Regions from separate parts of the Homo sapiens genome. Here region 2 is linked to region 1. Evidence: promoter capture Hi-C in 16 types of primary human blood cells and fetal thymus (Javierre and others, 2016). All regions are on one chromosome and are shown on one strand. The core of a region is centred on a gene start or on the middle of the fragment in contact, and the rest is flanking DNA. Distances in the headings are between cores, read along the strand shown.

Region 1 (5,196 bases), core at 2,658-5,157:
GAGACTGAGTTTTCCTCTTGTCGCCCAGGCTGGAGTACAGTGTCATAATATCGGCTCACTGCAATCTCTGCCTCCCATGTTCCAGCAATTCTCCTGCCTCAGCCTTCCAAATAGCTGGGACTATAGGTACCCTCCACCACCCCCAGTTAATTTTGTATTTTTAGTAGAGACGGGGTTTTACCACATCGCCCAGGCTGGTCTTGAACTCCTGACCTCAAGTGATCTGCCAGCCTCAGCCTCCTAAAGTGATGGGATTACAGGTGTGAGCCACAGTGTCTGGCCTAATTGTAAACATTTTTAAAAAACGTCTCAGCATTAGCATTCTGCTGAGCTAGGTATTCTATAAGGATTTATTCCAACTGAATATGCGCATTAGAATGCTGTAAAAACTGAGAAACAGACTCAGATTTATTATGTACTTTTTTGTGTGATAAGTACTGTATATGTGTTAATTTAATCTTGACCAAAACCCCAGGAGATATTATCTTCTACTTGCAGGTGAGGAGACTGAGTAACTTGCTGAAGGTCACATAGTTGGTAACTTCCAGACATGTGATACAAATCCAAATCTGTGTGACTCCGCAGCCCATGCTGGTTTGCCCATAGCAATGTCTCTCAAATTTTTTCATGAAGTAACCTCAAGTTGCAAGAAAAACCAAAACATATTCCCGGGGGGGGTTTGGGAGATTACTGAAGTATCCAGTTTAAGCCTGATGTGTCTCTGACCTCATACTTTTCTCTTAAATTTTATTTTTATATTTGCATTTTACCCCCACATTTTGTTTTTATTTCTATACATATATTTTTTTTTGAGATGGAGTCTCGCTCTGTCACAGAGGCTGGAGTGCAGTGGCATGATCTTGGCTCACTGCAAGCTCTGCCTCCCGGGTTCACACCATTCTCCTGCCTCAGCCTCCCAAGTAGCTGGGACTACAGGTGCCTGCCACCACACCCGGCTAATTTTTTGTATTTTTAGTAGAGATGGGGTTTCACCGTGTTAGCCAGGATAGTCTATCTCCTGATCTCGTGATCCGCCCACCTCGGCCTCCCAAAGTGCTGTGAAACAGGCGTGAGACATCACGCTCAGCTAATTTATTTATTTTTAGAGGGAGTCTCTCTCTGTTTCCAGGCTAGAGTGCAGTGGCCTGATCTCACTCACTGCAACCTCTGCCTCCTGGGTTCAAGCTATTCTCCTGCCTCAGCCTCCTAAGTAGCTGGGACTATAGGCACACATCAACATGCCCAGCTAATTTTTGTGTTTTTAGTAGAGACAGGGTTTCGTCATGTTGGCCAGGATGGTCTTGATCTCTTGACCTCATGATCCACCCGCCTTGGCCTCCCAAAGTGCTAGGATTACAGGAGTGAGCCACCGTGCCCGGCCTACCCCATGTTTTATTAAAGTTTATTTTCTTTTTCAAAAATTTTAATGATTTATCCACACTACACAGATGTAATGTCTGCTTAATATAAACCATTTCAAATGACTTAGGTAAATCATTTAACTCTTCCCTCCCTGAAAGATTTTTTTTGAGAAAAGTGATTACACAAGAAGGTGCACCTTCCATATTTATCCCATAGCTTTGTTTAGTTCCTAGTGCGTGGTTTCAAAAACCTGGATCCCAGTTTGAAAGCATGACTACAGAGCAAATTGCATTAAAGACATCTTAAGAATGATGATGAAAATAATTATTATAGGCAAGGGCCAGAAGATTTTTTTTTTTTTTTTTTCTGAGATGGAGTCTCGCTCTGTCGCCCAGGCTGGAATGTGGTGGCGTGATCTAGGCTCACTGCAAGCTCCGCCTCCTGGGTTCATGCAATTCTCCTGCCTCAGCCTCCCGAGTAGCTGGGACTACAGGCGCCCACCACCGCACCCAGCTAATTTTTTGTATTTTTAGTAGAGACGGGGTTTCATCATGTTAGCCAGGATGGTCTCGATCTCCTGACCTTGTGATCTGCAGAAGATATTAATAGCACTTAAATTATACAGCTATAGATAGAGTTGAGTGGGGGTTTTTTTGTTTTTTTTATTTTGCTTTGTTTTGTTTTTGAGATGGAGTCTCGCTCTGTCGCCCAGATTGGAGTGGAGTTACGCAATCTCAGCTCACTGCAACCTCAACCTCCCGGGCTCAATTGGTTCTCCCACCTCAGCCTCCCAAGTAGCTGGGACTAGAGGCATGTACCACCATGCTGGCTAATTTTTGTATTTTTTGTAGAGATGGGGTTTTGCCCTGTTGCCCAGGCTGGTCTCAAACTCCTGAGATCAAGCGATGTGCCCTCTTTGGCCTCCCAAAGTGCTTGGATTCCAGGCTTAAGCCACTGTGCCAGGCCAAAGTAGTTTTGAACTTTCCACTGTCAACGAAAGAAATTCTAAACACGACTGATTCCACTGAGTTTGACCAAACTAACTGAAGACTTATTGTTGAATGTGGTAATACCATGTTTTTTCTTCACCCAAGAATCTGGGTGCTTTATAAGCATAAGCATGAAATCTCCCTGAAGATAGTATTTATGCATCCACTGAGCGCTCAAATATAGACCATATTAGAAGTTAAGCAATGGGTTGAGTGGCCAACCACATTTTGGCCAGTCCTACAAGACTTTCTTTGACCTACCAAATGGGGTATAAATGCTTCTCGTATTCTCCCCGCCAGTAGGGACTCAAAATCTTAATAGCTCGGGGTAGTAAAAAGGATGCTAGGTTTGAATCTTGGCTTTAAGAAAACTGTGCTGAGGTGTTTTGTTTGTTTGAGACAGGGTTTCACTCTATCACCCAAGCTGGAGTGCAGTGGCGTGATCATAGCTCACTCCCAGGCTGAAGGGATCCTCCCACCACAGACTTCTGAGTAGCTGGGACGACCGGTGCATGCCACCATGCCCGGCTAATTTTTTGTACTTTTGGTACAGACAGTGTTTCGCCATGTTGTCGAGGCTGGTCTCAAACTCATGAGCTCAAAGAGATCCACCTGCCTCGACCTCCCAAAGTGCTGGGATTACAGGCACGAGCCACTGCGCCCGGCCAGCTTTTTTTCTTTTATCAGAATTGATATTAAACTATATGCTGAGCTTCCATGTCCTTATCTTCCTTTTGGCATGGCTATGGCCATTTGAAATGTGTGGGATTTGCTAAAGTGCTCAACATACGTTGTTTCCTTTTTTAGATCTAAGTATGTAGAGGGCTCTGATTTGCAATATTTAGAAAGTTCTTCTAAGCTGGGAAGAAAAGTCAAGACTAAGAATCATTGCCAACAGGGCCGGGCGCGGTGGCTCACGCCTGTACTCCCAGCATTTTGGGAGGCCGAGGCAGGCGGATCACGAGGTCAGGAGTTCGAGACCAGCCTGGCCAATATGGTGAAACCCCTTCTCTAATAATAATACAAAAATTAGCCGGGCATGGTGGCGTGCGCCTGTAATCCCAGGTACTCAAGAGGCTGAGGCAGGAGACTCACTTGAACCCGGGAGGCGAAGGTTGCAGTGAGCCGACATCGTGCCACTGCACTCCATCATGGGCAACACAGTGAGACTCTGTCTCAAAAAAAAAAAAAAAAAAATCGCCAATAGGTAGGGAATAAGTTACCCCCTGCTAAATAAGTTACACTCACCTAGGCAAGGAAGGAACTCATAAACCACCTTCTAAACTGCTTGCCTTCCTCCCCGAAGTTCTGTAATTTAGAGGCGGTCACTACCACTGCTTGAACACCCCTTCCCAAGTCTGTACCACAAAAGGAGCTCTTGTGTAGCCCAGCCCCTCCTTCTCAGGACCCCAGGAGCCCAGACACACTAATGGGGACATTAGTTGCTTACTTTTCCAGCTACTGCTTAAGCTAGGCAGGCCATGAAGAAATAACGGTCTCAGTAACCTCCATGCTCGGGATACGACTCCCGGGAAGACGTGGGTGGGTGCGGGGAATGCGGACTGATCCCTCCCAGCGGCCGTTGGGGGCTGGCCCACAATCCCTCGCGAGGGCGGGAAAAGCAATGTGGTCGTTGCGGGGGGGGGGGGTCAGAAAAGGGGGACGGTCAGCGGGAAGAGCCAAGAGACTGCAACTCTACAAAGAGCACGCAGATTAATTCTAATGATTGTTCCCTGAGCTTTTCACACCAAAATAATGGTAACTGGCTAGTGTGTGCCCGTTACGCTCACTACTCCCACTCGAGATCATTCCTATTAATGACTCTGAGGCTTCACCTAACAGGCCACGGTGGAGGCAAGGAAATGTGGCGTGGAGAACCCACTGGGCCTGGCTCTCCGTCCTATGGTCTCCGTCCATCGTTTTACAGTCAGGGTGTACATTTGATGAGGAATCTCTAAATGGGATTTTGGGGAATCAAAACGGAATGGTGCATAAGTGTGAAAATTTACAAGACTGCGCAAAGCTGCAAGGCCCGGAGCCCCGTGCGGCCAGGCCGCAGAGCCGGCCCCTTCCGCTTTACGTCTGACGTCACGCCGCACGCCCCAGCGAGGGCGTGCGGAGTTTGGCTGCTCCGGGGTTAGCAGGTGAGCCTGCGATGCGCGGGAAGACGTTCCGCTTTGAAATGCAGCGGGATTTGGTGAGTTTCCCGCTGTCTCCAGCGGTGCGGGTGAAGCTGGTGTCTGCGGGGTTCCAGACTGCTGAGGAACTCCTAGAGGTGAAACCCTCCGAGCTTAGCAAAGGTAACGACTCCTGATGGCAAGCTGAGGCACACCGGCCGCCGTCAGCGCCGCCTCAGTCTTCGTTCTCTCGCCTCGGCCTTCAGCCCAGTCTCCGTTAGATTCTGCTTCCTCCCACGTCCATGTTTACAGCGTGAAAGAGCTCCTCGACTCCACTTACAAGTTGTCTGAATGGTTAGGAGAACTGTGGTCGTGAAAACATTTACTAATTGCTTTTCCTCTGGCAATGCCTGCTGAATGCTTTGAGGATTGTCTCATTTAACCCTCAACCCGCTTACGTAGATTATTATATTCAGTATATGGATGAGAGAACTGATATCTTGGGGAGCTTAGGTAACTTTTCATGCTAACTGGGTTAGGAAATACTGGAGTCAGAATTGGTTGTCTAATTTTTGCTGTTCCAAGATCCAAGGGGTAAGGGTTAAATTTCAGAAATGCAGGATTTTGTGTAGGACTAGAGACACTAAGAATGAGAAAGAGAGTAGAATCCCCGGAATCTTGAGGAAGCATAGAAAGAATATTCTCTTACGTAATTAACTGAAACACCC
Region 2 (5,280 bases), core at 1,257-3,756, 260 kb after region 1:
TTAACTCAATTCTGACACTAATTGCCTGGAGTTACAACAGATCCCACAGGATAACGGGCTCAGTCCTGCAAGATGCCCCACCTCAGATGCCAGTTAAAAGTCTGGACCTCCCAAACTTCTGACCAACTGGTTATAAATCAAGGTTTCCTACAACCTTCTCCGAAGTTAAATAATTTGCTATAATGTCTTACAAAATTCAGGGAAACATTCACTTATGTTTACTGGTTTGTGAAAGGATATTATAAAGGATATAAATGAACAGCCAGATAAAGAGAGATATACAGGGTGAGGTCCTGAAGGGGAAGGGTCTCAAACATAATAGGTTCTGTTGGAGGTGGGGTATGCCACCCTTCTAGCACATAGTTATGTTCATCAAACCAGAAGCTCCCAAAATCCCATCTTTTAAGGATTTGCATGGAGGCTTCATCACGTAGGCATGTTCAAATAATTATTAAGTCAATCTCCCATCTCTCTCCCTTCCCTAGAAAATGGGAATAGGGTTGAATATTCCAGGCCTCTTATTATGGGTTGATCTTTCTGATGCCCAGTTGCCATCCTGAAGCTATCCAGTAGCCCACCAAGAACTGCTTCATAAGACCAAAAGGCACTCATAGACTATACAGGAAATTCCAAGGGATTTAGAAGCTCTATGTCAGAAACCAGGTTCAAAGACTAAATATTAGAAGATGCTTCCAGTACCCCGTCACTCAGGAAATAAAAAGGGTTTTAGGGGCTCTGTGTCAGGAACCAAGGCGGAGGACAAATATTTATTTCCAATTATGTCACAGATGTTGCACATCTTTTCATGTGCTTATTGCCCATTTGTATATCTTCTTTGGAAAAAAGCCTTTGGGTTGTCTTTTTATTATTGAAATATAAGGATTCGTTACATATTTGGGATACCAGTCTCATTAGATATATGATTTGCAATTTTTTGTTTTGTTTTGAGACAGGGTCTCTCTGTCTCTCGGGCTGGAATATAACGATGATTATGGCTCACTGCAGCCTTGGACTCTGGGCTTAAAGCGATCTTCCTGCCTCAGCCTCCCAATTAGCTGGGACTACAGGTGTGCCCACCATACCCAGCTATTTTGTTGTTGTTTGTTTTGAGACAGGGTCTTGTTAAGTTGCCCAGGCTGATCTCAAACTCCTGGCCCCAACCTTACCCCCTTGCAAAGTACCAAAATTACAGACATAAGCCACTATGCCTGGCAGATTTGCAAATATTTTCTACCAGTCTATGGGTTGTCTTTTCACTTTACTGATTTGTGATACAAAAGTTTTAAATTTTGATGTAGTCCAATTTAATATTTTTTTTCTTTTCTGCTTGTGCTTTTGGTGTCAGAGCTAAGAAAACCATTGCCTAATCCAAGGTCATGAAGATTTACTCTTTTAGGAGTTTTCTTTTAGGAGTTTTATGAGTTTTAGCTTTACATTTAGGTCTGTGATGCATTTGGCATTAATTTTTGTATATGGTGTAAGGAAGGGGTCCAACTTGATTATTTTGCATGTGGATATCCAATTTTTCCAGCACCATTTGACCATTTTGTTAAACAGAAAGTTATTTTCCTTTTTCCTGTTTTTTTTTTTTTTTTTTTTTTTTTTTTAGACAGTCTTGCTCTGTTGCCCAGGCTTGAGTGTGATCTGCCCACCTCGGTCTCCCAAAGTGTTGGGATTACAAGTGTGAGCCACACTCCTGGCCTTTTTTTTTTTTTTTTTTTTTTTGAGACAGTCTTGCTTTATCACCCAGGCTGGAGTGCAGTGACGTGATCTCAGCTCACTGCAACCTCTGCCTCTTGGGTTCAGGCGATTCTCATGCCTCAGCCACCCAAGTAGCTGGGATTATAGGCGTGCACCACCACACCCAGCTAGTTTTTGTATTTTTGGTAGAGACAGGGTTTCACCATGTTAGCCAGGCTGGTCTTGAATTCCTGGTCTCAGGTGATCCACCCACCTTGGCCTCCCAAGGGGCTGGGATTACGGGTACGAGACACTGCACCTGGCCTTTTTTTTTTTTTTTTCACTTATTTGACCTCTCAGCAATTGACAGAGTTCACTGCTCCCTCCTTCAAATACTCTCTACTATCTCGGTTCTCCTTTTACAGATTTTGCCATTTCTCTTTAGTCTTCATAGGTCCCTTGTCTTCTACTAAGCTTCTAAATATTGGGTTTTCAGTTATTGTCACTGTATTGCAAATTACCACAAAACTTAGTGGCATAAAACAATTATTTATTATGCTCACAATGTCTTTCAGTCAGAAATTAAAACTGGGTAAAGCAAGGTCACCTTATCTCTGTTCCAACTGGGGTCTCTGTTGGAAGACTCAGGCTGGGGGACTGGAATCATCTGAAGGCTTGTGAACTTACATGTCAAGCAATTGATAATGGCTACTGCCTGGGAGACCTCAGGCTACATCCACATGAGCCTGTTCATGTGGTTTCTCCACATGGCTAGTTTGGGCTTCCTCATGGCTTGATGGCTTGGCTGAGTATGAAGAGCAAGTATCCAGAGGGAGACAGAGGAAGAAAGAAGAGGAAGCCGGGGGAAGCCACGTGGCCTTTTATGAACAAACTTCAAAAGTCACACAGTATCACTTTTGCTACATTTTTTTCATCCGAGTAGTCACCACACCTCACCCATGTTTAGATTAGGAAGGGAAACAGACTCTATTTTTTTATGGGGAATGGCAAAGTTCTAAAATAGCATGCGGGACCAGGAATGCTGTTGCGGCCTTTTTAAAAATAATCTGCCACAGTCTTTTCTGGCCACACAATTCACATCCTTCCCATGTGCTAAATGCACTCACCCAACATCCCCTAAGATTTCCCAAAGTCTAATCCCATTATGGTATTAGGCTGAAGCTTGAGGTCCAAGATTTCATTGAGGCCAAGACCATGGCAGATAAGATTTCTTATCTGGCAAGTAAGGTTTCTTCCTTTAAAAAAAAATTCTCCAATGAGAGTTTAATTTTTATGTTTATCAAAGTGTATACTATATTAGATCATTTGTGTACCAGTAGTTACACTGATAAGGCAATGAAAAAGAAAATGTTTAACGCTGGAGCCTTATGGTCACAGAAAGTTTTTAAAAATTTAATTTCAATTTTCATACATATTTTTACTGCAGAGACATATTATATACTGCTTTGGCTGAGTCCCATAGGTTTTGGTATGTTGTGTTTCTGTTTTCATTTGTTTCAAGGAATTAGTCAATTTCCTTCTTAATTTCTTTCTTCACCCATTGGTTGTTTAGGAGCATGTTGTGTAATTTCCATGTATTTGTGTAATTTTGAATGTTTCACTTGTTATTGGTTTCTAGTTTTATTCCATAGTCAGATAAGATACTTGATATGACTTCAATTAAAAAAATTTTTTTAGCCTTGTTCTGTGTCCTAACATGTAGTCAATTCTGGAGAATGTTCCATTTGCTAATAAAAAGAATGCATATTCTGCAGCTGTTGGGTGAAATGTTCTGTAAATGTCTGTTAGAGCTATGCTATGGTTTATCTGATGTTTCCTTGTTGATTTTCTGCCTAGATGATTTCTGCAATGCTGAGTTGGGTGTTGAAGTCCCCAGCTGTTATTGTATTGGCATCTGTCTCTTCCTTTAGATCTAATAGTATTTTCTTTATGAATCTGGGTGTGCTGGTCTTAGGTGCATGTATATTTACAATTGTTATAGCTTCTTGAATTGTTTCCTTAATTACTATATAATGTCCTTCTTTGTCTCTTTTTATAGCTTTCGACTTAAAGTCTGTTTTAGCTGATATAAATATAGCTTTTCCTGCTTGCTTTTGGTTTCCATTTGCGTGGAATATCTCTTTCCATCCCTTCACTTTCAGTCTGTGTATATCCTTATAGATGAGGTGAGTTTCTTGTAGACAGCATATAGTTGGGTCTTGTTTTTGTTTTTGTTTGTTTGCTTTGTTGTTGTTGTTTAAATTCATTCAGCCAGTTTCTTTTAATTGGGAATTTTAACCATTTTACATTCAAGATTATTATTAATAGATGAGGACTTACTCCAGACATTTATTGACTGTTTTCTGAGTATTTTGTGTAACCTTTGTTCCTTCCCCTCCTATTATTTATTTTTGTGGTTGGGTTGTTTTCTGTAGTGATAAGATTATTTATTCCTTTCTCTTTCTTCTTTCTCTGTTGGCTCTCCTGGTGAATTTTATAATTTCACATATCTTCATGAGGGCAGTTATCATCTTTTTATTTCCAGATGTAAGACGCCCTTGAACATTTCTCTTGGACTAGACTAGTGGTGATGAATTCTCTTATTTTTTGCTTGTCCAGGAAAGATTTTATTTCTCCTTCATTTTTGAAGAATAGCTTTCCTGGGTATAATATTCTTGGCTAGCTGAGTTTTTTTTCTTTCTGTACTTTGACTATATCATCCCTTTCTCTCCTGGCCTGTGAAGTTTCTGCTGAGAAAGCTGCTGCTAGTCTAATGGAGATTCCCTTATATATGACTTGATGCTTTTCTTTTGAAAAGGAATTCTCTTTTAGAATTATTTCTTTGTCTTTACCTTTTGACAATTTGACAGCTGGGTGTGGTGGCTCATGCCTGTATTCCCAGCACTTTGGAAGGCCAAGGCAGGTGGATCACCTGAAGTTGAGAGTTTGAGACCAGCCTGACCAACATGGTGAAACCCTGTCTCTACTAAAAATACAAAAATTAGCTGGGCATGATGGCGGGTGCCTGTAATCCAAGCTACTCAGGAGGCTGAGGCAGGAGAATTGCTTGAACCCAGGAGACAGGTTGCAGTGAGCCGAAAATTGCACCATTGCACTCCAGCCTGGGCTACAAGAATGAAACTCTGTCTCAAAAAAAAAATTATTTTTTGACTATAATGTGCCTTAGAGAAGACTTGTTTGGGTTGAATCTATGTGGGAACTTTCCAGCTTCCTGGATCTGAATATCTGTGTCTCTCCCAAGACCTACGAAGTTTTCAGTTATTATGTCATTAAGTATATTTTCTACACCATCTCTCTTTTCTTCTCCTTCTGGAATGCCCATAATGCAATTATTTGTTTGCTTAATGGTGTCCCATAAATCCTATATGCTGTTTTCATTCTTTTTTCTTTTCTTTCTTTTTTTTTCTGCCTGAGTTTTTTCAAAAGACCTGTCTTCAAGTTCAAAAATTTTTTCTTCTGTTTGGTCTAGTCTGCTGTTGAAGCTCTTTATTGTATTTTTTATTTCATTCATTGAATTCTTCAGCTCTAAGATTCCTGTTTGGTTCTTTTTTTTTTTTTTTTTTTGAGACGGAGTCTTGC

The links. The method cuts DNA at HindIII sites, captures the fragments that hold promoters and counts their contacts. A CHiCAGO score of 5 or more calls a contact.
Region 2: a fragment that was not itself captured here is called in contact with the fragment with the promoter of TEX14 in region 1 in 2 of 17 cell types (M0 macrophages and monocytes); the score reaches 5.2 in M0 macrophages.

What each region holds. Positions count from the first base shown.
Region 1 is chr17:58,688,138-58,693,333 of GRCh38, forward strand. It overlaps TEX14 (testis expressed 14, intercellular bridge forming factor), which reads right to left and starts at 3,908. Exons shown (of 32, transcript NM_031272.5): 1 at 3,802-3,908. IGBP1C (IGBP1 family member C) reads right to left here and starts at 3,908. Exons shown (of 2, transcript NM_001395966.1): 1 at 3,802-3,908. It overlaps RAD51C (RAD51 paralog C), which reads left to right and starts at 4,465. Exons shown (of 9, transcript NM_058216.3): 1 at 4,465-4,651. The coding sequence starts at 4,507. RefSeq lists enhancers at 4,223-4,322, 4,653-4,822. The HindIII fragment of the contact is 6,974 bases long and covers 1-5,196 here.
Region 2 is chr17:58,945,532-58,950,811 of GRCh38, forward strand. The region is part of intron 1 of PPM1E (protein phosphatase, Mg2+/Mn2+ dependent 1E); the gene reads left to right. Among named protein-coding and RNA genes, the nearest start is that of TRIM37, 160 kb to the right of the region's middle. The HindIII fragment of the contact is 708 bases long and covers 2,153-2,860 here.